7 separate regions of the Homo sapiens genome follow, and regions 1, 2, 3, 4, 5 and 7 are each linked to region 6. The links are contacts of gene promoters, found by promoter capture Hi-C in human tissues and cell types (Jung and others, 2019). All regions are on one chromosome and are shown on one strand. Each heading gives the region's core, a stretch centred on a gene start or on the middle of the fragment in contact. The rest is flanking DNA. Distances are from core to core; before and after follow the strand shown.

Region 1 (4,112 bases), core at 423-2,922, 1.4 Mb before region 6:
AGCAGACGTTCCACTCCCCAGACAACCCTGCCTGGCCCAGGAGAAAGCCACTGCCTGCTGCTCCCGAAGAGGATCCTGAGGATCGGAGAGTAGGCTCCGAAATCACCTCCGCTCCCCACCATGCTGTGTGGCTTAAACAGACGTAAAAAGACCGCGTAAAGATGGACTAGGCTCTTTAAGACAGCGGACACAGACACAGTGTTCTGCAACCCTCTGGGGCTGACCCGGGCAGAGCTTGCTTGCGACGAGCAATTCAGGTTAACTTTCATCTTCTGTCTCTACGCTGATTTAAGAAAATGCTTCTGGGAAGTCAAAATGGCTTAATCTGCAGATCTCAAAATGCTGTCCACAGTAATTCCACGTAGTCATTATTCACTGGCCACCTGACTGATACCAAGTACCAGACGCTGGTTTATCTGCATAGACTTTGCGTCCTCTAAGACTGTTCCCCAGGGTCCCCTTCTCTATCTAGGCAGCCTTCCTTGAATTCCCTGGCTCACTCTCATGCCCGACTTAAGAAAAATACGTTTTCTTTTCTTTCTTTTTTTTTTTTTTTTTTTTTCAAAAAGAGACGTGGTCTCACTATGTTGCCCAGGCTGGCCTCAAATTCCTGGCCTCAAGTGATCCTCCTGCCACAGCCTCCCAAAGTGCCAGAAGTATAGGCTTGCACCACCACGCCTAGCTGGTAGCAGGTTCCTGGAGGAGGAGTCCCATCTGCTGCTGGTCTGTTCTCCCCACAGCACGTGGCTCCCACAGGGCAGAGGGTCAGTACACACACAGCACGTGCACTTTAGTGCACACGAGTAAGAGTTCATAACCATGCAGTTCTCTCAGGAATGTGGAGTCTCCCAGGAGGTGAATGCATAGAAACAAGTTTACATGTGAAGTGGAATGAGCTTAATGCTCAACAGCAGCACAGCCGCAGCCGGACAACCCCGAGGACTGAGGGTTAAAATCTGGGTGCTCTTTGGAAATTCCAAAAACCACAGAGAAATGATTAGACTTTTCTGATCCTGGATTAACCTTGAAAGGACAGCAACAATACCGCCTTTGCTGTGTTAGGATCGATGATCCAAAGAATCAGAGAACGTTTGGCAGGCAAGAAAGAGTCGTGTCACATCTCCACTGGAGGCGGGGGGCTGCCAACAGAACTGCTCCAAACAGAAGCTTGTGAGCCGGTCCCGGCTGCCATCCAGGGCCAGGGCAGTCCCCTGGTTGCTGTCCCGGGGGCCCAGCTGCCTGAGGTCAGTGCCACTAAACATGGCTGGGGAAGGGCCCCTGGAAATGTCTGTGCAGTGATTGGTATCTGTCTATACCAATGCCAGTCCAATCGGCAAACACACGCCACCGACTGTCTCCATTTTACCGGCCGCTTTTCCTCCCCTCCCGAAGGACGGGTGTCCAAGCACCAATGTGAAGACCACGGACAGTCCCAGGAGAGGTTCAGGCATGGCCACAGGAGAGGTTCTCTGGCAAACAAGTTATAATCTCGTTTACTCTGGTAAAGTGTTTCCTCCGTGCGCGGGTTCCCACCCAGGAGAGAGCACTCTGATGTGACATCGAGGAGTGACGGGAAGGTGGGACAGGGCCCAGTCTGCCGCAGGGACGGACAGCAGGCCGCCCTCAGCACTGAAGCCTAAAAGGAGAAACACCGCACTTTAGAACAACCTGCAAAATCAGGCCGGGCGCCGTGGCTAAGCCTGTAATCCCAGTACTTTGGGAGGCCAAGGCAGGAGGATCACCTGAGGTCAGGAGTTCAAGACCAGCCTGGCCAACATGGTGAAACGGGTCTCTACTAAATATATAAAAACTAGCTGGGCGTGGTGCTGCATGCCTGTAATCCCAGCTACTCCAGAGGCTGAGGCACAAGAATCACTTGAACCCGGGAGGCGAAGGTTGCAATGAGCTGAGATCACACCATCACACTCCAGGCTGGGTAACAGAGTAAGACGCCCTTGCCAAAAAAATAAACAAATAAAATTTAAAAATAAAGTAAAAGAATAACCTGCAAACCTTAACATGAAATTCTATAATAATAATAGGCTGGGAGCAGTGGCTCACGCCTGTAATCCCAACACTTTGAGAGGCCAAAGTGGGAGGATCACTTGAGGCCAGGAGTGCAAAACCAGCCTGGGCAACAGAGTGAGACCCCGTCTCTACAAAAAATAAAAATAAAAAAATTAGCCTGGCATAGTGGTGCATGCCTGTAGTCCCAGCTACTCCAGGAGACTGAGGCAGGAGGATCACTTGAGCCCAGGAATTCAAGGCTGCAATGGGTTATGATTGTGCCACTGCACTCCAACCTGGGTGACAGAGCAAGACCCCGTTTGTAAAAAAAAAAAATTAAAATTAGTAGTTGACAACTAATATCTGCTATTATTATATATACCAGGTACTGTGTGCTAAGCACATTAAGTAAATTAACTCACCAAAATATCCCACTTCTCTGAACACTCTGGTGATGTATGAATACACAGAGTTTGAGGGAAAGCGCCTGTGTTGTCATTTCCCCCTATGAATAGAGTGGGCGAAAAGAGAAGTCTTGAGGGCAAAGCAGCTGCCGCCCTGCAGAGGGGAGAAGAAACAAGAGCGACATGGCAGGAGTGAGCTCCCGCTGTCTGTCTTCTGGACTCAGGCACCTCCAAGGCCCAGGCACGGTTTTTTTTTTTTTGAGACGGAGTCTCGCTCTGTCGTCCAGGCTGGAGTGCAATGTCACAATCTTGGCTCACTGCAACCTCCACCTCTCGGGTTCAAGCGATTCTCCTGCCTCAGCCTCCTGAGTAGCTGAGACTACAGGCACGTGCCACTGTGCCCGGCTAACTTTTTTGTATTTTTAGTAGAGACAGGGTTTCATCATGTTGGTCAGGCTGGTCTCGAACTCCTGACTTCAAATGATCTGCCAGGCCCAGTTTTGCTAAAGCTGATGGAGGAAACGCTTTCAGAAGCAGAGGGCAGAATCCAGGAGGGGCCTGCCAGGAAGGTGATCGCCGTCCTGCCGCGGCCAGCTCCAACAGACGGTCTGCAGCACAGGTCTCGTGCTTCCTAAGTAAAAGCATTCGTAGGCCAAAAACAAGAACGTTCTAGTGAAACACACGGAAGCCTCCTGTCCCTCACTGCATAGACATTCCTATCCAAATTCAAAGTTATTTATTTTAAGACTTTCCCTTTAGATACCATCCTTGAAGACAGCGGCAAAGCTCAAGAGAGCCCCCAAATGCAAACCCCAATCACACCCCAACAGAGAGCAAAAGGTCTTCGCTGCTTAAAAAAAAAAAAAGTTCTGTTTGTTGAAAGAAAACAGGGACAGTGTCTAAATGGCTTGACAAATCACTTCCTTGCTTCAGCCACTGCAGCCGAGCTCAGCTCACCTTCCTAATATGGGGAATCCCACCAGGCCCAAACCCACACCCCTGCCAGCCAGAAGCCCCAGCCCACGCCCAGCACATGTGCCCCTGGCTCCCTACCCCTCTGAGTGCAGGCACCTTGCCTGGATCCCAGCCTGTTGCCCTGAAGAACTGAAACCTACAGGGCAGCCCAGCCCGGGCAGCCACGGCAGTTGACGGAGATTGAGAAATCACATGTAAGTGGCATCGCCACCCACTGGGCCAGTCGGCAGCCTTGGTGTGTCCACTGCCAAGCAGTAGAGCTCCCGTCCTCCCAACACAGCCACACGCCCGGAGCATGGGCGAGGCCCGGAGAGTCCGTTCACGCAGACTGGCCGGAGGGGCCCGGCCGCACAAAGGCAGTGAGGTCCTTGCTTCTCACTCCTGCGGAGCGAAAGAGAAAGCGGACATCTGGCCCCGGGCCTCTGCCTGTGGGCAGGAGGCCGTGTCCCCCTGGCTGGCTGGGCTCCTGAGACAACAACTAAGCCCGGTTTCACTTTGGGCAACAGCAGTGAAAAAAAATCCGATGACATCACCCCCACCGCTTTCTGAACAAAAGCAGCGCCCCCGGTCAGACCAAGGGACTGGGCTCTGTGCTCGCTGCATTTCCCGGAGCCGATGGCGTCGGTGCTCCAAGGGGCGTTCCGGCCACCTGGGCCAAAGCCTGGGCACTGCTATTCTCAAGAGGCAGCTCCGATCTACCCCCGCGACCCCAACTCGCAGTGAAAT
Region 2 (4,016 bases), core at 506-3,005, 1.2 Mb before region 6:
CTTTTTCTTTTTCTTTCTTTTCTTTTTCTTTTTTTTTCTTTTTTTTTTTTTTTTTTAGCTGGAGTCTCACTCAGTTGCCCAGGCGGGAGTGCAGTGGCGTAATCTCGACTCACTGCAACCTCCGCCTCCCAGACTCAAGTGATTCTCCTGGCTCAGCCTCCTGAATAGCTGGAATTACAGGTGTGCATCACTACACGTGCATATATATATTTTTTTTTTGTATTTTAATAGAGATGGGGTTTCCCCATGTTGGCCAAGTTGGTCTTGAACTCCTGACTTCAAGTGATCCACCTGCCTCGGCCTCCCAAAGTGCTGGGATTACAGGCGTGAACCATTGCACCCGGCCCAACCATCCTATTTTCAAGCCTCCCTCTTTTTTGGTACTCATCTCTAGGTCTCACCATGGACTGCCTTGTGTTAGTGATGAGACTGCTCTGTGTTCCTCTCATCTCAGCCATGTTCAAGCCCCTGAGAGCTACGGATGCCCGTTCTCATTCAGAACACAATAGACACGAAAATTGCCAATGAGCTTCTAGATTTGGAGAGAAAAAGCTAAAAGCCTCTGTTAGTTGCTAACCCTGCAGAAGTCCTCTTTAACCCACAACTTGCCTCCTTTCAACATTCCTAATAGGGTACCCATTTATCCGCATACCTCACCACTGTCCCCCACAAAACACAGCCTCATTTACAACTCTATAAAGGAAAATTTCATACGCTTTCCCTAGAGATTTAAAGCAAGGAGTCATTAGCGTAAATGCTGTTCCCACTCAGCAATTTGAAGGAAATCTAAATGCTCTTCCTCAGATGGTGCCAATTACAACAGCCGGTGGAGGTGACCTCCTGCCTGCCCCACGCTGTGGCGGCAATCACCGTGTATCTTCTCAAATCGAGGCAAAGTGGACTCTATTCTTCCCTCAGCTTGTAAGCACTCTCCTTGTGTGCCTGGCACAATTCTCTCTGTGCCTCTGCCCTGTGCTCTTTTCCGTTCTGGCTACAAGATGACTAAGAGAGATGAAAACTATGCAAGCATACAGCCAATCTCTGCTTGTGTCATTTATGCTGGACATCCTTTTGGCCAAAGCCAATACCCAACATCAGCACAGCAGGAAAGTAGATTCTGCCTCTGTAAGACTACACAGCAAGCATGCATGCTAGACAAACAAGAATTCAATCTACCAGACCCTGCACCCACCTCTGCTGGGGAAGAGTTTTTCCTCTCCGAAGAATCTTCAAAGGAAAAAAGAACTGGGCCAACAAAACATCACATCAGCCTTTATTTGCTCAAAAGGAATGTGTAGGCTGGGCGTGGTGGCTCACACCTACAATCCCAGCACTTTGGGAGGCTGAGGCAGTTGGATCACCTGAGGTCAGGAGTTCAAGACCAGCCTGGCCAACATGGTGAAACCCATCTCTACTAAAAATACAAAAAAAATTAGCTGAGCATGGTGGTGGGTGTCTGTAATCCCAGACTCGGGAGGCAGGAGAATTGCTTGAACCCAGGAGGCGGAGGTTGCAGTGAGCCGAGATTGCACCACTGCACTCCAGCCTGGGTGACAGAGCGAGACTCCATCTGAAACAAAAAACAAACAAACAAACAAAAAACAAAAAAAGAAAGAAAAAAAGGAAGGTGCAGTTTACCACTTCAGGCCAGACTGGCTTTTCCCTTGGGCAGCATAGATGATTATGTAGAAGTGTCTTGGAGGGCTGTCTTGTCTGAAATCCTACAGTTCATTTCCTGGGGTTCAGTAATGTTCCCACATGATACTCTTTCTAATAATACAAATTTCATTTCCTTTCATTCCATTCACAATACCTCCGTGTGAAGAAGCCAGGGACTGCATGAAGACACTGAATGGCTCAGTAGGAGAAGTGGTGAATGAGATTTGCTGAAATGCAGGGTGTGGTAAATTGAATTCTTGTTTGTCTAACATGCATGCTTGCTGTGTAGTCTTACGGAGGCAGAATCTATTTTCCTGCTGTACTGATGTGGGGCATTGGCTTTGGCCAAAAGGATGTGAGCACAGATGACACAAGCAGAGATTTGCTGTATGCTTGCACAGTTGGACAGGCACTCTTGCCCTTCCGTTATTTACATGAGAAGAGCTTCCCCTGAATAGCTTCTGGCCCTTGAACATGGACCCCATAATGAGTACACATGGTGCAGACTGAGATCCAAATCATAGAGGTGGAAGGGGTGGGGCCGACCAGACTCGTAGCTTGAAGAAGCAAAGACTCCCAGATGAGCCCAGTTTAGTTCAAAAAACACATGCTATTTTTCTTTACCACCGAATTCTTTTTGATCTGTTTGTTACACAGCAATAGCTGACTGACACAGAGGTCAAAGATGCTGGTGAGAAAGTTGAGATTGCCAAATAAGACTTTATTACCTTCTCAAAGTTGCCTAGACAATCTCTGCTCCCATATCAGAAATCACAGATCCATGCACGGCTTTACCAAAAACCTGATTCATTTTTGTCTCCTTCATGATGATTTGCAGGATAATGATGTCATTAAGAAGCTTTTAAAACTTTCACATTAGCCAAAGGATGGGATCAGAAGAAACACTTTGGCAGGATTTCAAAACCGAAGGGGAGTTGTGAGAGGTGGGTTCATTTATAATAAAAACAAATGACTTGAAGGTTTTAGTTTTCAATTATTAACATTCTAGTGCCAAAGGCCCAGCCATGCAATTTAGTTCTTAGCTATTTTTGCTAATATCTCCTCAATGCTTGACGTCTAAATACCCAGTCAATCAACAGCCATTACAGAGTTATTACACGCAGTGTTGCGTATGGAGCTGGGGAGAGAATATAAGAAGAAAAAATGCTCCCTATTCTTTGAGAATTTATAACTTAGAGTAAACACAAGCCATACATAGATCAATTATTCATTTAAATGTTGAAAGAATTTTATCAATGGACTTTTAATAACTTTTAATTTTTATACATTATTATAATGTGTGTTTCTTTCAAGTAACTTACAAAATATACAAAAGCACAAAGAAAAAATGGATTGCCAATAATCCTAACATTCAGACAGGCACTGTTAACACTGTGATGAATAATTTTCAAACATTTTTTAAGGTAAGCATATTTTTGTACACACGTTTCTTTTTAAAAGCAATGTTGTTTTTGGCAATGGCTATCTTCCATGTTAATAATTATTGATCTGTAGCATAATTTTAATGGCTGTAAAGTATTCCCCTGCATAGGTATGCCATTATTTGTTTCATCAATCTCCTACCAATAGTCATCTAGGTTATTTTCTGAGTTTTCTCTATTATAAAAAGCAATGCTGTTAACATCCTCATACATTCATCTGCATCCAATGGTCCCCTTCTGGTCTTAGGACAAGCTCCTATGAGTGAAATTTTTAGGTTAAGTGTGTGGTATTTCTAGAAAGCATTTGATCCATGTGGGTAAACTGACTTCCAAAGTTTCCGTTTTAAATGTCTTCTCTAAAAAAAAATTATTTTGAGTAGATAGTCATGTCTCAATTGAAACATGTCATGAGGTCGGGCATTGTGGCTCATGCCTGTAATCCCAGCACTGTGGGAGGCCAAGGAGGGTGGATCACCTGAGGTCAGGAGTTTGAGACCAGCCTGGCCAATGTGGAGAAACCCTGTCTCTACTAAAAATACAAAAATTAGCTGAGCGTGGTGGCGGGTGCTTGTAGTCCCAGCTACTTGGGAGGCTGAGGCAGGAGAATCGCTTGAACCCAGGAGGCAGAGGTTGCAGTGAGCCGAGAGCGCACCACTGCCCTCCAGCCTGGGTGACAGAGTGAGGCTCTGTCTCAAAACAGAGAAAAAAAAAAAAAAAGAAACATGTCATGAGTTTGAGTCTGTCTCTTGAAGTCAAAGGCTATTTTCTCAAGTTGATAAGTTGGTTTGAAAAGCCTGATGTACGTGCAACTCAATTAAAAACTTTGAATTTTGCTCCTTTTTTTTTTTTTTTGAGATGGAGTTTCGCTCGTGTTGCCCAGGCTGGAGTGCAATGGCGTGATCTTGGCTCACTGCA
Region 3 (4,128 bases), core at 1,018-3,517, 1.5 Mb before region 6:
ATATCATCAGAAATCACAGGCTTAAGAATATTGTGAAAACTGGTAAGCCCTAATAGATTAACCTTCTTGAAACCCTAACAGAGGGCAACTGCAGAACTCATGTATGTTACATAGGGAAATTCAACCACACTCTATCCTCAAAAACGGCTGCCCACCCGAGCCAGGGAGGCAGAGAAACAGGTATTTAAATAGTGAGGGCTCAGCCGGGTATGGTGGCTCACACCTGTAATCCCGGCACTTCGAGGGGCCGAGTCAGGCGGATCACCTGAGGTCAGGAATTCGAGACCAGCCTGGACAATGTGGTGAAATCCCATCTCTACTAAAGATACAAAAAATCAGCCGGGTGTGGTGGCGGGCGCCTGTAATCCCAGCTACTTGGGAGGCTGAGGCAGGAGAATTGCTTGAACCCAGGAGGCGGAGGTTGCAGTGAACTGAGATTGCGCCATTGTACTCCAGCCTGGGCGACAGAGGGAGACTCTGTCTCAAAAGAGACTCTAATAAAAATAAATAAATAAATAAATAAATAAATAAATAAAGAGGGCTCTTCCTTTTGTTTTTCATGTCACAAGTTTATGACCTTGAGCAGAATGTGACTGGGAATGAAGTTCTCAGTGGGTGTTTTTCCTTGTCTCTTGGCAAGGACCTTGGGATTAACATGTTACATGCTGAGATGCCAGTATTTTTCATTTTCATATAGTCCCCACATTCACATGAATGACATATCTGTCCAGGATTGAAGGGAAGGTTGCCTATGTTGAGCTGCTGGGAGATGGTGCTGCATATTCACCAAGCCTCTTCCTAATGAGTGGACTCTTAAGGGTTATTTTGATCAGAGATTTTTGTCCTGTTCGGGCTTTAGAACTTAACCTGCCTTCAAGACCTCACTCACTATAATCACAGCAATTTCAACCACCCGAATCTTTCCCACCAATTGGTCTAGCTCTGAGTCCAGGTTTGCTTGTTTGTTTTGACATGGAGTCTCGTTCTGTCACCCAGACTGGAGTCCAGTGGTGCGATCTTGGCTCACTGCACCCTCGGCCTCCTGGGTTCATGCACTTCTCCTGCTTCGGCCTCTCACCTCACCAAGTTTGTTTACGTTTACCAAGGGGCTGTAGTGCTGGCTGTATTTTCTTTACTTTTTTTCTTTTTTCTTTTGAGACGGAGTTTCGCTCTGTCCCCCAGCCTGGAGTGCAGTGGCGCCATCTCAGCTCACTGTAACCTCCACCTCACAGGTTCAAGCAATCCTCCTGCCTCAGCCTCCCGAGTAGCTGGGATTACAGTCACCCACCACCACGCCCGGCTAATTTTTTTTTTTTTTTTTTTTTTTGTATTTTCAGTAGAGACGTGGTTTCCTCATGTTGGGCACGCTGGTCTCGAACTCCTGACCTCAGGTGATCCGCCTGCCTTGGCCTCCCAAAGTGGTGGGATTACAGGCGTGAGCCACCACGCCCGGTCAGCATTTTCTTCTTTTAAACATGTAGTATGAAGTCTTTGCCTGTTTGGTGGACCGTGAGTCTGTTCAGTCCTGGCTTACACTGTTTTCCCCCATGACTGGTTAGTTGGTGAGGAAGGAGCTACTCACTCGTTACTGGGAGTCCAGACACAGCCTGAAACCAGCCTGGAGGGTGATTTCTCAGCCTAGCTAATACATCCGCGCAAGAGAGATCTTTTTAAGTCACAAAACCCTCCCACGGTTCCGCAAAGCCCTCGGATGGCCTCCAGCTCCCCAGCCTGGCACACAGCCTTATTCCTTAGCAGGCCTCCGGACACTGTGACTTTGCGTTCTTGACTGTGAGGCACTGAAATCTCCCGGCTGCCCGATTTCCTGCCAGACGCGGAGTTCTCACCGCCAAGCCTTTGACTAAACTGTCGACTGGGTCCCACCCCACTTGCTTTCACTCACCAAGACTCTGCTCAAGTGTCACCTCCTCCGGGGACCCACCATGACCCTCCCCGACCTCCTCACCCCAAGCCTGGCCGCCGTGTTGCCTTACCCGATCCCCAAGTCTCGAGGGCGAGTCCAGTCGGGTTCCTGCAAGGCTGGCGCCCAAGCCCCTGCCCTGTGAGACCCACCCCCGTGTGCCCCTAGGGAGAGATGCAGGAAGGAGGGCCGGGGCCGCAGCTCCCCCGTACCTGGCCTGGTGGAGCAAACTCTCCGCTCCTGCCGAGAACATCACGCCGCCGCCACCAGACGCGCACGAACCTCGGAAACTCCAGGAGCTGCAGCCCAGGAGCTCCGCACCCCGGTCAACTTCCGGGACCGCGTCACGTGAGCGCAGCGGCCTTACGTGGCTGCGTCACGTGCCGCATCACATGAGCAGGAGGGACAGGTTGCCGACCAATGGGCTTTGGCGTGGAGCGACTGGGGCGGGGCGTAGGTGCCGCGGCCGGGGGTCCGGGTCGGCGCCTGGGAGCTGCGGAATCGCGCGACCCCGGAACCTCGGCACTCTGGAGCCCCGGCGCCCTTCGACCCCGGAAAGCATTTCGGCGGAAATTGGGCGCCTGGGGCTTTGGGAGAGGGCATTGCTGGCCCCAAAGTGTCACTGCCCCAGTTCTGGTTTCTGTTTCGTAAACAGCTTTGTCGTGCGGGAGTCCCTTTGCTAAGTACGACCTGAAAATCTGATGCAAACTCCGACACTTGTGGGCTGAGCCCAGCAGTGTCCAGCAGTTTGCAAGGAATAGCCGCGGCTCTGGGCAGTTTTGGGGATTTTTTGAGCTCCCATTTATTGAGCACCCATCCCGCGCTGTTCCTGCTGCTTGAAACGAAAAAATCCCTTATTCAATCCCCACGGTATTCATGGGATCTCGCGATCTCTGTTTTACAGATGAGGCCACAGGCTCGGAGAGGGGAAGTTTCTGTTCATTCTAACGGATGTGTTGGGTGCCCAAATGTGCTGGGCCCTGGCCATAAGTTTGCCATCCTGCAGACGGCCGAGGGACACAGGGCGACACGCCAGCGTCATGATAAACGCTATGACAGCCTGACCTGGTTGGGGGTCCAACCGGAGGAGGAAGGCTTCGGCGACTGCGGCCTAAGATGAGCCCAGAGGGTGTCCAGACCAAGGGGTGGGGAGGGACGGGCCTAGGGTAGCGATCTGCTTCCTATGGCTTAAATGCACCCCAGGAGGAAACTGATCTCTGGCCGCAGGGGAGATAATGGATTGGGAAGCTCCTGAGGGAGAAAGGAGGCTGGTGCAGTTGTGGTCCAGGTAAGGGAGGTTGCCCCGAAAGTAGGCAGATTCAGTACCATTTAGAGGTAGGATTTGCACCACCTGTGATTGAGGAATTTGCAGGCAGGAGGAAGAAAGTGGAAAAATCAAGGGTAACTTCATGTTTGTGGGGTGTCTGTCTGGGGCAGAAAAGGACGAGGAAATTTGTGCCAAGAGTCATTCATTAAGTGGACAAGCGATGATTGAGTCCTAGCTGCGCTAGGCACTGCTGAAGGTTCTGGGGAATAGGGTAGGGGTGGGAATCAATGTTGCGTAGATAGGGTGGGTCAAGGTTAGGCCTTGAAGGGATAAGCCCCGAGAAGACCCCTGGATGGAAGGAAGGAGGAGGAGGAGGGAGGGCTTCCTGCAGGAGTTCCAAACATGGCTTTGAGATGCCCTAGGGCGCCCAGTGATGTCTGAGGGCACCTGGTGCAGAGAATGAAGAGATGGGAATCGGTGGATGGTGAGCGGTGGATGGGAGTCGGTGGAGTGCGGCGGGTGCCCCTGGAGCCGCAGGTTGAAGACTGGCAAAGGAAAGCTGGTGACAGGTAGTCTATGGAAAGCCTACTGCCAGTGTTTAACGTTTACTAGGGTAAAACGTCCACACCAAAGCGCACAAATCTTAAATGAACTCCACTATTTACATTTCTAGAAATCGGTGGTAAATTTGCAAATGTCTTAAGCCTCGGCTCCATTGGCGACGGTGGGGAGCCGGGGGTTGATTTGTGTTTGATAATTTCTGTGGTGTAAATGTTCCTGCCATGGTTTGAGTTCAAGACCTAGACCATTTCCAGCTCCCCAGAGGTTCCCCGCTGTGGCCCCCTCCCAGTCAACGCCCACTCCCTTCCCCCACAAGTAACTGCTAGTCTCTCTTATCACCAGAGATTAGTTTTGCGTCTTTTTATACTTCATGCAAATG
Region 4 (4,054 bases), core at 666-3,165, 1.7 Mb before region 6:
CAGGCGGGTGGCTCATGCCAGCACTTTGGGAGGCCGAGGCAGGCGGATCACCTGAGGTCAGGAGATCAAGACCAGCCTGACCAACATGGAGAAAACCCATCTCTACTAAAAATACAACATTAGCAGGGCATAGTGGCACATGCCTATAATCCCAGCTGCTCGGGAGGCTGAGGCAGGAGAATCGCTTGAACCCGGGACGTGGAGGGTGCAGTGAGCCGAGATTACGCCATTGCACTCCAGCCTGGGCAATGAGCGAAATTCCGTCTCAAAAAAAGAAAGAAAAAAAACCAAAACTGCAGAACAAAAAAATACATGTTCCAAAATTCCCCTCAAGGCTAAGCCAGAATCTTCTGGCAAAAAAGAAATTAGGCATCATGGGAGGACAAGACTGGTTCAGCATCACCTGTAGTATTTCAGATCATAAATGCCTAGTGGAGCACTCCTTTATAATCACCACGCCTTCAAAAACTGATGCTGACACTGTCTCTTAAGACTCAATGACTACATATTAACAGCGTCTTGCCAGTAAATTAACAGCTTATTAATCCAGTTGCAATGAATGAGTCTTACACTTCATTCATGCCAGCAATATCATTATCTGATATAATTCTAGTCTAACTAGTCTTTTTATGTCAAAAATGAAATGTCCCTGGATTCTAAATGGTACAAAATAGGTTCATTTCAAAAGATACAGCTGTGATACTAAAAGGAAAAAGCCACAGGGAAAGGGATGAAGTGAGAACAAACAACTTACCTTGTCCCCGATGGCAGTGAAAGTTGTTCAAGTGAATTACCTCTTCATTGTTGTTTCCCTCTTCCATTTTCAAATGCAGACATGCACATACGGGACTGCTAATATCTAAACATGGTGACCATCTGTTTCAAAAGAGCTGAAAAGGAAGCAAAGAGGAACAGTAAGAATGAGGGAGTATCAAAACTCTTGCCATGTATCTGGTCAGGGGGACATCTGAAGCTTATGCTGAAAACATTCCTTAAGAAAACATATCCAAGGAGGTGGGTCAAAAAAAAAAAAACCACACAAACTCAAAACCTATGACATTAAAACATATGTTTAAAATACACATATTAAAGAGACAAAGTACTGACAGAGAAATGACATCTTGATACAAATATGCTAACAAAGAAATGGGCTAAGGGTATTAATAGGCAATTCACAAAAAAGAAAACACAGAAGATGCTCAACCTCACTAATAATCAGGGAAAGGCAAATCAGAAAATGAATTATGTTTCAGCCAGACGCAGTGGCTCAAGCCTACAATCCCAGCACTTTGGGAGGCCGAGGCGGGCAGGTCACAAGGTCAGGAGTTGGACACCAGCCTGACCAACACGGTGAAACCCCAGCTCTACTAAAAAATACAAAAATTAGCCAGGCATGGTGGCACGCGCCTGTAATCCCAGCCACTCCGGACACTGCCGCAGGAGAATCGCTTGAACCCGGGAGGCTGAAGTTGCAGTGAGCCAAGATCGCCGCACTGCACTCCAGCCTGGGCAACAGAGTGAGACTCCGTCACAAAAAAAAAAAAAAAAGGAATTATGTTTCAAACCACTGGGGTGGCAAAAAAGGCAAGTATGTAAGAAATGGGAAATCTTATACATTGCTGGTTTGGATAGTAACTTGGAAAAGATATTCTGAATAGCAATCAGCAATACGCCCTAAATTACAAATGTACATTCCCTGTGACTTAGCAATTCCACTTCCAGGTATATTAGCTAAAGAAACCTCTGTGTGTTCTCCAAGAAATATGCATAATAGAATATACGGACAGGGATGGTGGTCATTACAGCAAATATGCAATAAAAGCAATTGGAAATGGCCTTACTGGACTTCAATAAAGGAATAAATAAAATTCATATGATACAACACAGTTAAATTAACGTTAAATGAAAGTGTGATACCATTTATGTAAATTCATACACAAATTTTAAATACATATTTAAATATTAAATTAAAAAATACAGCCAGGCGCGGTGGCTCACACCTGTAATCCCAGCTCTTAGGGAGGCCGAGGTGGATGGATCACGAGGTCAGGAGATCGAGACCATCCTGGTTAACACGGTGAAACCCCGTCTCTACTAAAAAATACAAAAAATTAGCCGGGCGTGGTGGCGGGCGCCTGTAGTCCCAGCAACTCGGGAGGCTGAGGCAGGAGAAGGGTGTGAACCCGGGAGGCAGAGCTGGCAGTGAGCCGGGATCGCGCCACTGCACTCCAGCCTGGGCGACAGAGCGAGACTCCGTCTCAAAAAAAGGAAAAAAAAAAAAATAATAACGTTCTCTTTGCACTATCAAAGTACCTAGGACAACTGCTACCCAGGCCCTTAAGGATTCACAGAGCCCTGGCGGATTTGTCAGAAATTTCTGTAACCCGCACGCCGCGCACGCTCCACGTTGGCTGCAAGTGGCCCAAGTCTTAGAGCCCTGGTCCCGTTCCACCGGGAGCAGAACCACCTCGACGCGGGGACAGCGGCCTCGCTCCCTGCCCAGCGCCCGGACCCCCGAGCCGGGCCAGCCCCCAGCGCCCCGCAGAAAGGTCTGACGCACTTGCGGCGCCCTCGCGAGTGCCGGGTGACAGTCGCCAAGTTTCACGGAACAACACGCGCTCCAGATGTGAGGGGAGAGGAGGAAAAACGCCGCCCGCCTGGGCTGGGGTTCACAGGCACGGGCCGCCTCCCGCCGCTCCTCCAGGCCGCGCTCGGGTGCACGGACACCGCCTCCGCGGCGGCCTCGGGCCCGAGGGAGGGAAGCGGCCCGAGGGGCCGGCTCGCGAAACTTCGCGAAGTGGCGGGAGGGTGTCGCTCCCGCCTCGCCACCGCAGGGGGCTTGGAGACGCCCAGCCCAGCTCCCCGGCCCGATCCCGCCCGGGCCTCGGCCGCGCCCCTCAGCTCTGTGGTGCTCACGGCCCGCGCCCCCGCCCCCACCCCCGCAGCTCAACGGAGGCGTCACGCAGGGAGGCCGCCTCGCCTCACAGACCCGCCCAGAAGCTCGAGCGCGCCCCGCAGCCGACACTCACTCGCCACTCAACTCGCCGGCTAGCCAGGCGGGTTCGGCGACCTTCGCTACCACGCCGCTTACTCCTCCAAAGCTGCAGCTACGAGCTCCGTGGCAGCCGCTGCATTCCTTCCGGCCCTGCCCCGGCGTCACCTCGCGCAAGCGTACAGCGCGCGTACAGCGCCCCCTCCCGACTAACGACAGGAAGAACCATAGAGGCACTCCGGGTGCTGCGGAGGAGGGACCGGGGGGCTCACCATAGAGAGGGCAGCCTAGCCGCGCCTGCATCCGGGCTCTCCGCCTACGGAGACTTGACTCCCCCACGAGGCTGGAGGATGAAAGGAACGGAGACCCCCAATCCCCGACCCCACAGGAGCCACCATCTCCCCAGAGCTGAAAAGGGTATGGGGCAGGTGGTTGTGGATGTTTACTCGATATCTACTTATTTGCCCTAATTCCTTTGGCAAGTCATTCATTCATTCTGCAAATATATTCTGCGGATTTCCTGTGGGCCATGCACTATTCTAGGAATTGGGGAAATTAAGAGAAAAGTGGGTCTCACGGCTGGGCACAGTGGCTCACGCCTGTAATCCCAGCACTTTGGTAGGCCAAGGCGGGTGGATCACTTGAGGTCAGGAGTTCCAGACCAGCCTGGCCAACATGGTGAAACCCCTTCTCTACCAAAAATAAAAAAATTACCCGGGCGTGGTGGCGGATGCCTGTAGTCCCAGCTACTCTGGAGGCTGAGGCAGGAGAATGACGTGAACCCAGGAGGCGGAGCTTGCAGTGAGCAGAGATCGCACCACTGCACTCCAGCCTGCGCGACAGAGCAAGGCCCTGTCTCAAAAAAAAAAAAAAAAAAAAGAAACAGAATCTCGCTTTGTTGCCCAGGCTGATCTCGAACTCCTGGGTCCAAGTTATCCTTCCGTCTTGCCCTCCTAAAGTGGTGGTATGGCAGGTGTGAACTGCCACGTCTGGCTAGGAATTTTTTATTAGTAAAATGGGAATTTTAAGATATTATCTATTGCCCGGTGTTCTTGCAAGGAT
Region 5 (3,929 bases), core at 1,304-3,803, 1.3 Mb before region 6:
TGTTCAGCCTATTTCCCATAAGTGGAATTGTACAATAGTGGCCTTTTGTGTCTGGCATCATTCATTTAGCATGACGTTTTCGAGTTTGATCTGTGCCGTAGCATGTATCAGAATTTCATTCCCTTTTATGACTGAACAACCTTCCATTGTATGGAATACCACCACTTATTTGTCTATCCATTGGTATCAGTTGGACTGTGTTTCCCACCAAAGCAAACTTTGCAGTCCTAGCCCCCAGAATCTGTGATTGGGACCTTATTTGCAAATGGAGTTGTTGCAGTTGTCATTGGTTAAGATGAAGTCCCCCTAGAGGGAGGTGAACCTTTAATCCATCATGACTGATGTCCATACAAGATGTACAGAGAAAAGACAAGAGGCCATGTGATAAGAGAGGCAGAGGTTGGAGTCATGCAGCCACGCGCCAAGGCCAGGAAGGTCCTCTCCTACAGGGTCAGGGTGAGCAGGGCCCTGCCAACACCTTGGTTTCAGGCGTCTAGCCTCTGGAACTGTGAAGCAATGCATCTCTATTGTTTTTTTTTTTTTTTGAGACAAAGTCTCATTCTGTTGCCCAGGCTGGAGTGCAGTGGTGTGATTATAGCTTACTGCAGCCTCCACCTCCTGGGCTCAAGCGGTCCTCCATCTCAGCCACCTGACTAGTTGCCACCACAGGCATGTGCCACCATGCCCAGCTAATTACAATTTTTTTTTTTTCTGTAGAGACAGGGTCTTGTTATGCTGCCTAGGCTGCTCTCGAACTCCTGGCCTCAAGCGATCCTCCTGGTGGAGCCCTCAACCAAGTGTTGGGGTGACAGGTGTGAGCCACCGTGCCCAGTTGCATTTAGTAATAATAATATTATTACTTTTATTATTTTTGAGACAGAGTCTCGCTCTGTCACCCAGGCTGCAGTGCAGTGGCCCAATTTCAGCTCACTGCAACCTCCGCCTCCCAGATTCAAGCGATTCTCCTGCTTCAGCCTCCCAAGTAGCTGGGACTACAAGTGAGTGCCACCACATCTGGCTAATTTTTGTATTTTCAGTAGACATGGGGTCTCACCATACTGGCCAGGCTGGTCTTAAACTTCTGACCTCAAATGATCCACCCACCTAGGCCTCCCAAAGTGCTGGGATTACAGTTGTGAGCCACCATACCTGGCCTAATATTATTGGACAATTCTCACTCTAGTCCTGAGAGGTTGGCGTTCTTGTGTCCATTGCACAGATGGGACATTTGGAGGGCAGAGAGGGCCAGTGGCCTATCCCAGGGCGCGTGGTTAGTGAGTGGCAGAGCTCCCAGGTCTTTGAGCTCCCAGACCTTCCCAGGTCTTTGAGCTCCCAGAGCTTCCACCTGCTCTACTGCATAGCAGACTTGATTCCAGGAGAAGAAAATCTATCTTCCGCTTCAAACTAAGGGAAGACCACTGGAACTTAGATTAGTTTATTTAAAATCAAGGTTCAGGCTGGCGCAGTGGCTCACGCCTGTAATTCCAACACTTTGGGAGGCCGAGGCGAGTGGATCACCTGAGGTCAGGAGTTCGAGACCATCCTGGCCAACACAGTGAAACGTAGTCTCTACTAAAATGCAAAAATTAGCCGGGTGTGGTGGCAGGCACCTGTAGTCCCAGCCACTCAGAAGCCCGAGGCAGGAGAATCACTTGAACCTGGGAGGTGGAGGTTATAGTGAGACAAGATCATGCCACTATACTCCAGCCTGGGTGACAGAGTGAGACTCTGTCTCAAAAATAAAAAATTAAAATAAAACAAAATCAAGGTTCAGAAACACATGGGTTAAGAAGGTTTTTCTGGTTGGGTGTAGTGGCTCATGTCTGTAATGCCAGAACTTCAGGAAGCCGAGGCGGGTGAATAACGTGAGTCCAGGAGTTTGAGACCCGCCTGGGCAACATGGTGAAACCTGGTCTCTACAAAAAAAAAAAAAAAAAAAAAAAAAAAAAAAAAATTAGCCAGGCGTGGTGGTGCATGCCTGTGGTCCCAGCTACTGGGGCTGGGGGGCTGAGGTGGGAGGATCACTTGAGCCCAGGAGGTCAAGGCTGCAGTGAGCTATGATTGCACCACTGCACTCCAGCCTGGGCCACAAAGCCAGACCCTGTCTCAAAAAAATAAAAAAGAAGGCTATTCTGGGAACAGGCTTGTCTGCTGGTGGGTGCCGTCCTGATGTTGGCCATCCTAGACAGTGCATCTCGAGTTCCAAGCTACGGATGTGGGCATGAGCCCTGGAGTGTGGCCTGTGTCTGTCTGTGAACTGAAATAAAACATTGCAACCCGAGTCATAGCCAATCCTGGAAATGATGATGACTGCTTGCAAACACGTTGCAAGCCTCTTGCTTGTGCTTGCAGAAACTTGATACACAGGCCTGTGTGCGGGAGGCGGGAGGCCCGGGCCATTTGGGTCTCCCGTTTCTGAATCTGAAAAATGCTAGAATCCATTTTCCCCTCGGTTTTAGGTCAGGTTCCCCAGAAGCAAACTCTGTGGTAAGGAATTGTGTGCAAGCCACGTAGGAATGCCGTGGTCCCGGGAGGTCTGGAAGGGAGTAGGAGGAGGGGACCCAGGAGCCAAGCCAGAGTAAGGTCCTTTGGCAAAATCCCCCTGGGGTGGCTTTGGCCCAATCCTGCAGGAAGGCACTGCAGCGTAAGTTATGCCCCAGGGTCTGTCCAGACTCAGGCAAAGGGAGCGGGGCTTTCACTTTCTGGAATCTGCTCGCCATTGGCTAAGAGCTGGCTGGGGGGACAGGAACCCCAGGCACCTCTCAATTTCTGCTTGCATAGGCAGAACAGCTCCACAGGGGCCGAGTGTGAGAGACAAAGCACCCGGGAGCAAGGGGAGGAGGAAAAGAGTCGTGAGATCTGCAGGGAGCTCAGATGGTCTCTGCACAGTCATTCTCACCGGCACTTGTGGACATCGAGTCTACGATAACTTCATAGTCTCTCCTGCCTGTGCTCAGGACTCCTCGATGTCTCCATTTCTGAACTGGTGGGGGGTTGGAGGGCTGCTCTTCCTGCTGGAATCATAAATCAACATTGTCAGGTGCCAACGTGATGATAAATTGTTGGATGATATGCTGATAACGCATAGCGTTTTCATTTCCTCGGAAAAACAAGGCCAAAGACACTTTCGAATTGCAAATGCCAGCCCCGTTACAGGGGCGGCTGCAAGGAAGGATTTCTGGTCAGCAGATATGGGAAGTCGGCCCGAGAACACAGGCAAAGGAAGTGGGTTTCCTCTGCAGGAATGCAAAGTCACCAACTCCAGGCAGTCCTGGAATGAACCTTACACCTAGAGGCGGCGATGCTTGAATGCGGTGGTTTTCTCTCCCTGCCCTCTTCCTTCTTTCTGTCTAACACACACATATGTAATTGTCTTTTGAGATGTGTATTGGAGTATAGCATGTAGACAGAAAAACGTGCAAAGCAGGACTGTGAAAGGATGAAAGTGAACTCACCCACGTGCCTACCGCTCAGGTCAAGAAACAGAACCTCCCTAGCCCCTTAGAACAGCAGTCCCTAAGCTTTTTGGAACCAGGGACCAGTTTCGTGGAAGATAATTTCTCCGTGGGCCCGGGTCGGGGAGATGGTTTTGAGATGATTCAAGCAGATTACATTTATTGTGCATTATATTTCTATTATTATTACATTATAACATAGAATGAAATAATTCTACAACTTTCATAATGTAGAATCAGTGGGAACCCTGAGCCTGTTTTCCTGCAACTAGAGGGTCCTGTCTGGGGGCGATGAGAGACAGTGGCAGATCATCAGGCATTAGATTCTCATAAGGAGCAAACAACCTAGATCCCTCGCATGCGCGGTTCACAATAGGGTTTGCGCAGTTGATCTGACAGGAGACGGAGCTCAGGCGGTAATGCGAGCGATGGGGAGTGGCTGTAAATACAGATGAAACTTCACCTTCCTGCCCG
Region 6 (4,169 bases), core at 1,353-3,852:
TCTTATAACAGCACCAGAATTTTCATTTTCAAGATACATGAGCTTTTGTCAAATGGTGACATCTCCTCTGTAATATGAATTTTCAATACGATATAAAAAAAGATGGATATATTACACATTTCACAGAGCAAAGAGAACAGAAACCCGTCAATGAACTTAAAATTTGTGACAACCTATCTGAAATTTTACACTAAAAGATCTGTACACTTTCATAAGCCATATAAATGTAAAACAGGTACCAATGTTTTTACTGCCAAAAAGGAATAAAATATTCCTAACAAAGTTCGGTTGTTGCCTTAATATATTTTTAAAATGTATTTTCATTAACATTTCAGTTGTTAAAATGCAATGCTTTACACAACCTTCAAAGTGCAACTGATAAAAACTTGAAATCTATGTAATATACTTCAAAACAAAGCCACTGGCAGATTTTTTCCCCACCATTTCAGTCTGTGCACCAATCTTCAAATGTATGAACGTACAGGTCTTAGTGCAAAATGCAAGTCACTGTTTAAAAAAAGAAAACTTAATAAACACATTATTTTAAAGGTCATCCTAAGTGATTTAGATTTCTTCACTTGAACCTGGTTGCTCTAACAATCTACAGATCCCACTGTACAAAATGACTTAATAAATGCTTTTCTTCCAGAGTAAGTCATTAAGCAAAAAGCACAAATAAGTGAAATGAAAATTTTCCAAGTAATGGAGGAGTTAAATTAACCAGAAATATGGCAATTTGTTTTCATGTAGTAAAACATAAGAGGGAGCATTTATGAAAGCTGGAGGGGGGTGGAGGGGCACAATTTAGATAACGTTACATAAGCATCAATAAAAAAAAGTATGAGTTCGTTGTTAAGCTATTGGATGATAGTTTTGAGCTCAGACCTTTAAAATGTTACAACATTTAAGTCATGTTACTACACATAAATCATCTTCACAGGACACAGAACACAGCTAATTTAAGTTTAATGCTCTCATCTTCGCCAATCTCAGAATATCGAGTTCCTTACCATGATTGTTCGTTAGCTGTATCTTGGAATACAACTAAGTTAATTTTCCTAAAACTACCATCAGCAAAACCAGTTCACTAATGTGTTTTAAAGACGTTACCAAAGGACGTATTAAAATAGTTATTTCTGGGTTGAGGGGGGTGTTTTGGTTTAAAGACCAGCAAACTTCAAAAGAAAACGATGCTAGCTGGCAGGGGTACGTTACGGGTTTTGTCGGGGGCGGGGAGGGGGTGGAGGGAAGCCCAGATTTGGGAAGGAAAGCTCGTTTCACAAGAGATCCCATCTCTCGTTTCAAAAGGTCATTTCCATTCAGCAGATCCTCTTTCCCTATTTCAGAGCTCACCACTGTATTCTAAACAGAAGCCAATAGAGGGAGAAAAACAAAGCCAAGTGCAAAAGCTGTGGGCACTGAAAGTTTTGCTCCACCGGCCGCGCAGCACCCACTTGGGGTCGGGCTTTGGGACTTGGGGGAGTCAGGAGCAGGCGGGGGCTGGGGAGAGGACGAGGCCCTGGGGAGGGGCTGGAAAAGGCTTTTCACAGCGACTGGCACTTGATATTTCCAAGTCTTCTGGATGTCACTCACCGGAAACCAGACCCTGCGGTGCGAAGACTCAGGTACAGACCAGCCCCTTTTTCATCCATGCAATGGGAAGGGGACTCGGGCATCCTTTTAAGGAGCTGAGAAATGGGTCCTCAACTTAAAAATTTTTGTTTGTGCTACTGCGGTATAAAAAAAATAAAACGCAAAGTAGCAGACGGGGTGCAGGCTCTACGGGGCTCCGTTTCCCTCTCCTCCGAGTCTGGCGTGGAGGAGCCCCTGGGCTCCCTAGAGCCCCCAGCAAGGCGCATCCCGACCCGGGCCGGGAAGCGGGGGGACCCCGGACACACTCTCGCTGCTCAAGTTCGCGCCTCCGCGCCCCGAGGCGACGCCCCCGGCCCGCGACCCCGCGCGCACCTACCTTGCGCCAGCGCCCGGAGCAAGTGCAGCTGCAGCGCCAGCAGCGCCCACCAGCCGCGGCGGCCCGGCCCCAACTTTGCCGCCCGCCGCCCGCCGCACCGCCCCGCGCCCGCCGTGTCCCCGCCGGAGGTCTCGGGCGCCGCCCGGGGTCGCGAGGGCTCCGGGCCGGGGCGCGGCGCCAGCGAGGGGCGGGCGCGGCCGGGCGGGGATCCCCGCGGCCGCCCGGGGCCCGCGCGCTCAGGGGGCTCCGCGCCGCCGCCGCCGCCACCGGCCGCCGAGGGCCGGGCGCCCCGGGCCATGCCGAGCAGCCGCCACCCCGAGCGCCGCGCCGGACGGACGGGCGGGCAGGACAGGCGGGACGGCTCCGAGCGGGCGCGGCCACTCCGCGGGAGGCGCGGCGCCCCCCGGCCCGAGGTGAGCGGCCGCCCAGCGCTGAGGGGCGGCGTCCTGGGTCCCCGCGTGAGGGGCGCGGCGCGGGCCGGGGACGAGCCGGGCGAGAAGAAGTTGTCAACGGGGGAAATTCGCGTCCGGCGCTCACGCAGTCCCGAGCCCGCCGCGCTAGCTCCGAGGGGTCCGCCGGGCGCGGAGGAGCCGCCGCCGCCGCCGCCCCCGCCCGGCGCTGAGAAGAAAGTGCGCCCGCCCGCACGTCGCGGTCGCGCTCGCCCTCAGCTGCCGCGGCCGCCGCTCCCCATTCACAGCCCGGCCGCACGCGCCGCCCGCGCCCGCCGCCCGCCGCCCGCCGTTGATTGGCCGAGGGAGGCGGCGCCCGCTCCCAGGGCCCGCCCCCCAGGCCCTCGCTTGTTTTCAAAGTCGCGGCGCCCGCCCGCCTGCAATTTTGTGCCGGCCGCGGCGCCTGGCTCGGGCGGCTTCCCGCGCCGGCTGCGCCCCCTAGGGACCCGTAGTGGGGACTGCAGGCGGCGTCGATTCGGCACGCGCTCCCGTGGCGGGCTCGCGGGCGGGGGTGGTGCATCCTCGCCCGGCCCCGCAGCGGTGCGGGCGCCCGAGTGGGAAGGGCTCAGGTGCAGCAGGACGCGCAGATCGTGCGGCAGCCCAGGGCCGAGGGCGGAATAGGGCGCGCCCCGAGAGGCGCCCGGCTACCACCAGCTAGCTCAGTGCTTGGGGGTGACGCGCCAAGTTACCGTAATTGCAAACACGCGCAATCGGGTTTTTAATTTCTAGCAACCAAAGGCACCACTGGGTGCAAACTCGCCTCCTGTTCAGAGGAGTGGATATGGCATTGTAGAAGCGTCCAAGGTCACTTTTGGCCGGCGCTGGAGGAGGGCGGGGTAGGGAGGGACACATTGCAGGTTTCCCACCGTGGAGTGGGCGAGTCTTGGGGCAGGGTCGGCCAGTGGGAGGGTCTCCCAGGGCGGGACCCGGGAGCCTGTGGGGCTGGGGGTGGGGACGGGCGCCGACGCTCAGCATGTGGTAAGCATTAGCAGAGTTTATGGGGTGAACTAAGCGCACTGGAGGCTGAAAGGCCAGCATTTTTGTGGGAGGAGAGCTGGAGGTGACACGCACTGCCTCTGGAGTTGGCCCGGGAGGAGCCTGGGGACGTGTGATGATGGTCGCATGAGATCATGTAAGAGATGAACGCAGAGGGGCTGGGTGTGAGCCCAGCACGGGGCTGACTCCCCAGGAATCACCTGATGCAGTAGGTTTATTGTCCCAGCCAAGAAAGACCCCGGGCGAGTGGAGAGCAGGTCACAGGGCTGGGGTCTGGGATAGGAGCCAGCTCCTGCTCACAGAGCGCCTATGGTATTTGTCAAATAACTGATTGGTGGCTCAATATTAGCCTCTGTACACGTCCCCTAAGACTTAACAATGACCACGTGAACAAAACAGGGAAACTGAGGTCCAAGTACAGCCGCCGAACAGGAGGTGGTTTCAGAAAGAGGCCTCCCATCTGCCCCCTTTCCACACCATGCTAGGAGGGGCAAAAAAGTTAAAGGAGCCACGGAGTGCCCTGTTCTGAGGATATAGTGAGGGCGCATAGATGGGACGAGCCGGAAGAGGACAGCTCCCCAAGGACATGGGGATGAGACTGGAGGCAGAGAGGCATGTCTGTTTTTATCTTCTGTTGGTAGCAAGGCTGGGTTTCTTCAAACTTGCAAGATTATAATGAGAACCTGCTGGGCGGGGGGAAGCAATACCTCCTGTGCAGTGAGCACTCACTGTAGGCCAGCCCAGGGCAGCAGCAG
Region 7 (3,898 bases), core at 1,399-3,898, 1.4 Mb before region 6:
GATAGTCTCTTCGTAATCTGAAAAAGGAAAAATAAACAAATAGGGAAAGAAAATTTTCAGAGGCGAATTTCTTAGAATGATCTTAAAGAATGTGTTCCTTTAAGATAAATCCGACATTGTAAAATGCTGGGAAGCTATTTTTAAAAATTAACTAGTGGATTGCTCCTGTAGTCACGGCTGAGGTGGGAGGATCGCTTGAGTCCCGGAGGTCGAGGCTGCAGCGAGCCGTGACCGGACCACTGCACTCCGGCCTGGGTGTCAGAACAAGACCCTGCTTCAAAACAAAACAAAAACAACAAAGGCAACAACAACCACAACAAAAACAGGCCCAGGCTTGTAATCTTGGCACTTTGGGAGGTCAAGGTGGGAAGACTGCTTGAGGCCAGGAGTTCAGGACCAGCCTGGGCAAGACACCATCTCAACGAAAATAAAAAATGAGCTGGGTGTGTGTGGTGGTGGGTGCCTGTAGTCCTAGCTACTCAGGAGGCTGCAGTGGGAGGATCGCTTGAGCCCGGGAGGTTGAGGTTGCAGTGAGCTGTGACTGTGCCACTGCACTCCAGCCTGGGCAATAGAGTGAGACCCTGTCCCAAAAAACAAACAAACAAAAACAAAATCAACCCCCCAAACCCAAATTGGAACCAGCATTAAAAATAATAATTTAGAAAATAAAATTAACTTGTTTCTGAAGTGCACTTTGCCCTGGTGAGAATAACCAGCATGGTGGCTTCAACAGGAGCTGCTCTCATGTTAGGCATAGACCTCACAGAGCTGAGTGGGTGCTTGAGCGGAGAGGCGGCCCCGCAGCTAGGCAGGTTCCGGGGTCAGCTCCGTGTCTGCAGGCGCCTCCTGCTTCCCCTGAGGCTCATGGAACCCGGAAAGGGCTGTCCTCGTGCGTAACATGCCCGCACAGAAGCCATGCAACAGGCCTACTCCACACAAGCCGCTTGTCACCCGAGGCTGACCTGAGAAGTCGGGCGCTAGGACCCTCCGAGATTACAGGAAACGCGGGCGTGGGGATGTCCTTTCAACAGATTCGGACAAACACAAGGACTTCCCTACCAAGCTTCATTCCGAACTCCCAACACTTTAGCGCCAAAGTTGCCCCTCGAAGGGATCTAGGCAGGAGGGAAAAATAAAAGGAAGACAGAAAGTCCCAACCTTCCCATGTGGAGGAAACAATAGTTACTTCCCCAGAGTTCTCAGCTGGGAAAAGACATAAGAGGGTGTGGTGGGGTGGGGAGGGGCAGCAAGGCCTACAGGGACAGGGACAGGCAGACAAGGGAAGAGGGACCCTCACTGGATTTGCAAATGCTGGCACAGCCAGCCCAGATCAGCCAGGCAGGATTCCCGCTAGGGGTGATTCACACATTCGCACCACAATCCTCCTGCAGCCCTGCTGAAAACACACGGAAGGCTGCAGCCACAAACTTGTGTTTTTTAATTATTAATTTTTTGAGACAGGGTCTTGCTCTGTTGCCCAGGTTGGAGTGCAGTGGTGACATCATAGCTCGCCACAGCCTCCAACTGCTGGGCTCAAGCGATCCTCCTGCCTCAGCCTCCCGAGTAGCTGGGTCTAAAGACATGAGCCACTGCACCTGGCTAATTAGCAAAAAAATTTTTTTTTTTAGAGATGGGGGTCTCACTATGCTGCCCAGGCTTGTCTGGAACTCCTGGCCTCAAGCAATCCTCCTGCCTCAGCTTCCCAAAGTGCGTCACCACACCCAGCCAACCAGAAACTTTGAAAGAGATGAATCACCCTGCAGGAAGCTACCAAAGTTGTCAGAAAAAGGAGAGTATTTCTAACGTAGATCCAATAACCTCCAAACTCAAAAGACCTCTAACTTTACAAAACAACATAAACCAAGTTAGGACTGAATGTTATCTAGCAATAAGACAGAACTGTTTAAAAATCATGATTAAAAGGGAAAGATTTTGAAGTCAGTTGCTGCATTTTTACTGTATATTTACATACTGCTGACCTTCGCCGAATTGTACGAGTTACTTTCATTTTTGATCTCCACGTTGGAGAAATCAGGAAGAGCCTTAAGAGAAACAGCTCTTGAAGTCTTGCCCTCATGAGCAAAAACAGTCACTCTGTGCAATGTCCTTTCACTGAATTTCAGCAGTTTTCTTAAAACTCTACCTCTAAGGAACACTTTTTAGACTGGTGTCTGTCTGATGGAACCTAGAAAATGATTAACTACTTGAATTCTTTCATTAAATACTTTAATTCCTTCCTAAAAACACTTTTTTTTTTGAGATGGAGTCTCGCTCTGCCGCCCAGTCTGGAGTGGTGCAATCTTGGTTCACTGCAACCTCTGCCTCCTAGGTTCAAGCAATTCTCCTGCCTCAGCCTCCCAAGTAGCTTGGATTACACACCTGGCTCATTTTTGTATTTTCAGTAGAGATGGGGTTTCACAATGTTGACCAGGCTGGTCTCGAACTCCTGACCTCAGGTGATCCGCCTGCCTCAGCCTCCCAAAGTGCTGGGATTACAGGCCTGAGCCACCGGGCGCCTGGCCTGTAAAAATCCTTCTTTGCAAAAAGGAAAGAAAAGGTCAAACTTCTGCTAAAGATAGCAGAATTTATTTCAAAGAGAGTTCATTCATTTTCTGGGTGGAGTACTTCAGGGCAGAAAAAAATAAATCAGAAACACACACACACACACAAAACCACACACCCACACCCATACCCACCCACCCTGGGAAAAGGAGCGAGGGCCTGCGAGAAACGGAAAGGAAGGACGCAGGGTGGCGCGGGGGGCGGGGGCAGGGGCAGCTGATCAGGGAGGCTCCCCCAGGAAAAAGCCGCTCCCAAGCCACTCCCGACTCCTGGGAATGAGGGGCCCTGGGCGAGCCCGGCCTACACCGAGCCAGCCACTCCACGGCCAATGAGGACTGGCGAGGCGAATGCACACCAAATTAGGAAGGCAGGCACCGCGGGGGCGGGGCGGCACTGGGAGGGGACAGCCTTGCAGGCAGCCAGCTCTTCTGGCCTGGCCCCGCTCCCACCTCCCGATCTGTTAGGGAGCGCAGCCAGAGAGGAGGAGAGTGGGGAGGTGGCAGGGAAGGGCAGGGAGTGTTTGTAAACACGCCGGCTCCACCCTACAGCAGAAACTCAAACTGAAAAGTATCTTGGCAGGGAAAACCTCAAGGGCCTCTGAGGTTTCTAAACACTCAATTGAATTCCAGGGTGCTAAGATAAACGGATGTAAACAGAGAGGCTTTTATTGTAACAATGGAAGGCCAAAAAGCCAGACAGCCAGTCCCTAACTTACTACTTTCTCCGCACAGAATTCTCCCCAACAAGAATCCGGTCTTTGCACAGGGCGGTTTCAAAGAACAGGACTGGGCGGAAGGAGGGGAAAGGGGTGGCCCCCCACCTTCCTGGCTCCCGCAGCAAGAGCAGGGCAGGTGCAGGCCCAGGGAGCTGCTCGCACCCCCTGACGGGGACTCGCAGTCACAGGAGGCCGCCACCCAGCTTCTCAGAACAGCTCCAGCTGCAAGAGCTTCAGGTGCTCAGTACACAATTTCTTTACTCCCAGCTATAAAAAAGAATGAAATCTTGACCTGGGCAGCAACGCGATGGAGCTGGAGGCGCTTATCCCAAGTGAACCAACTCAGAAACAATACCGCACAGCGCCTGCTCTTGCTTACAAGCAGTGGCTGAACAGTGGGTACCCGGGAACAGGAAGATCGAAACAATGAGAAACTGGGACTCCTAAGCAGGGAGGCGGGAGAGGGCGAGGGGTGAAAGATGACCTACGGGGTACGCGGTTCACCCTTTAGGTAACGGGAACCCCAGAAGCGCAATCCCCACCAGTAATATACCCATGTCACAAATATGCACGTGTACCCCCTGAAGCTAAGATAAAATAAAAATAAACAGTATTTTCCCT

The links. The method cuts DNA at HindIII sites, captures the fragments that hold promoters and counts their contacts. A contact is called where the count stands out against the background at its distance.
Region 1: a contact is called between a fragment that was not itself captured here and the fragment with the promoter of SDK1 in region 6, in 1 of the 25 tissues and cell types used here (dorsolateral prefrontal cortex).
Region 2: a fragment that was not itself captured here is called in contact with the fragment with the promoter of SDK1 in region 6 in 1 of the 25 tissues and cell types used here (dorsolateral prefrontal cortex).
Region 3: a contact is called between the fragment with the promoter of AP5Z1 here and the fragment with the promoter of SDK1 in region 6, in 1 of the 25 tissues and cell types used here (dorsolateral prefrontal cortex).
Region 4: a fragment that was not itself captured here is called in contact with the fragment with the promoter of SDK1 in region 6 in 1 of the 25 tissues and cell types used here (dorsolateral prefrontal cortex).
Region 5: a contact is called between a fragment that was not itself captured here and the fragment with the promoter of SDK1 in region 6, in 1 of the 25 tissues and cell types used here (dorsolateral prefrontal cortex).
Region 7: a contact is called between a fragment that was not itself captured here and the fragment with the promoter of SDK1 in region 6, in 1 of the 25 tissues and cell types used here (dorsolateral prefrontal cortex).

Annotation. Positions count from the first base shown.
Region 1 is chr7:4,725,181-4,729,292 of GRCh38, reverse strand. The region is part of intron 1 of FOXK1 (forkhead box K1); the gene reads right to left. LOC124901581 (a long non-coding RNA gene) reads right to left here. Exons shown (of 2, transcript XR_007060199.1): 1 at 2,430-4,112; 2 at 1-1,636. Among named protein-coding and RNA genes, the nearest start is that of FOXK1, 45 kb to the right of the region's middle. RefSeq lists an enhancer at 3,687-4,026. The HindIII fragment of the contact is 6,895 bases long and covers 1-4,112 here.
Region 2 is chr7:4,462,543-4,466,558 of GRCh38, reverse strand. The region is part of intron 1 of LOC124901579 (a long non-coding RNA gene); the gene reads right to left. Among named protein-coding and RNA genes, the nearest start is that of FOXK1, 220 kb to the left of the region's middle. The HindIII fragment of the contact is 4,829 bases long and covers 1-4,016 here.
Region 3 is chr7:4,773,762-4,777,889 of GRCh38, reverse strand. It overlaps AP5Z1 (adaptor related protein complex 5 subunit zeta 1), which reads right to left and starts at 2,267. Exons shown (of 17, transcript NM_014855.3): 1 at 2,134-2,267. The coding sequence starts at 2,174. RefSeq lists enhancers at 1,589-1,698, 1,719-1,778, 2,119-2,188, 2,619-2,708, 2,749-2,798 and 2 more and a silencer at 2,309-2,438. The HindIII fragment of the contact is 20,755 bases long and covers 1-4,128 here.
Region 4 is chr7:4,973,137-4,977,190 of GRCh38, reverse strand. It overlaps the pseudogene RNF216P1. Among named protein-coding and RNA genes, the nearest start is that of MMD2, 16 kb to the right of the region's middle. RefSeq lists a silencer at 2,588-2,967 and an enhancer at 2,680-3,278. The HindIII fragment of the contact is 5,809 bases long and covers 1-4,054 here.
Region 5 is chr7:4,612,412-4,616,340 of GRCh38, reverse strand. No RefSeq gene overlaps it. Among named protein-coding and RNA genes, the nearest start is that of FOXK1, 68 kb to the left of the region's middle. The HindIII fragment of the contact is 7,496 bases long and covers 1-3,929 here.
Region 6 is chr7:3,299,685-3,303,853 of GRCh38, reverse strand. It overlaps SDK1 (sidekick cell adhesion molecule 1), which reads right to left and starts at 2,602. Exons shown (of 45, transcript NM_152744.4): 1 at 1,970-2,602. The coding sequence starts at 2,267. SDK1-AS1 (SDK1 antisense RNA 1) reads left to right here. Exons shown (of 3, transcript XR_001744897.3): 1 at 1-1,625. RefSeq lists enhancers at 1,801-2,301, 3,011-3,522, 3,523-4,035 and a silencer at 2,576-3,125. The HindIII fragment of the contact is 11,292 bases long and covers 1-4,169 here.
Region 7 is chr7:4,744,244-4,748,141 of GRCh38, reverse strand. The region is part of intron 2 of FOXK1 (forkhead box K1); the gene reads right to left. Among named protein-coding and RNA genes, the nearest start is that of AP5Z1, 29 kb to the left of the region's middle. RefSeq lists silencers at 2,690-2,739, 2,850-2,949 and an enhancer at 3,640-3,689. The HindIII fragment of the contact is 5,421 bases long and covers 1-3,898 here.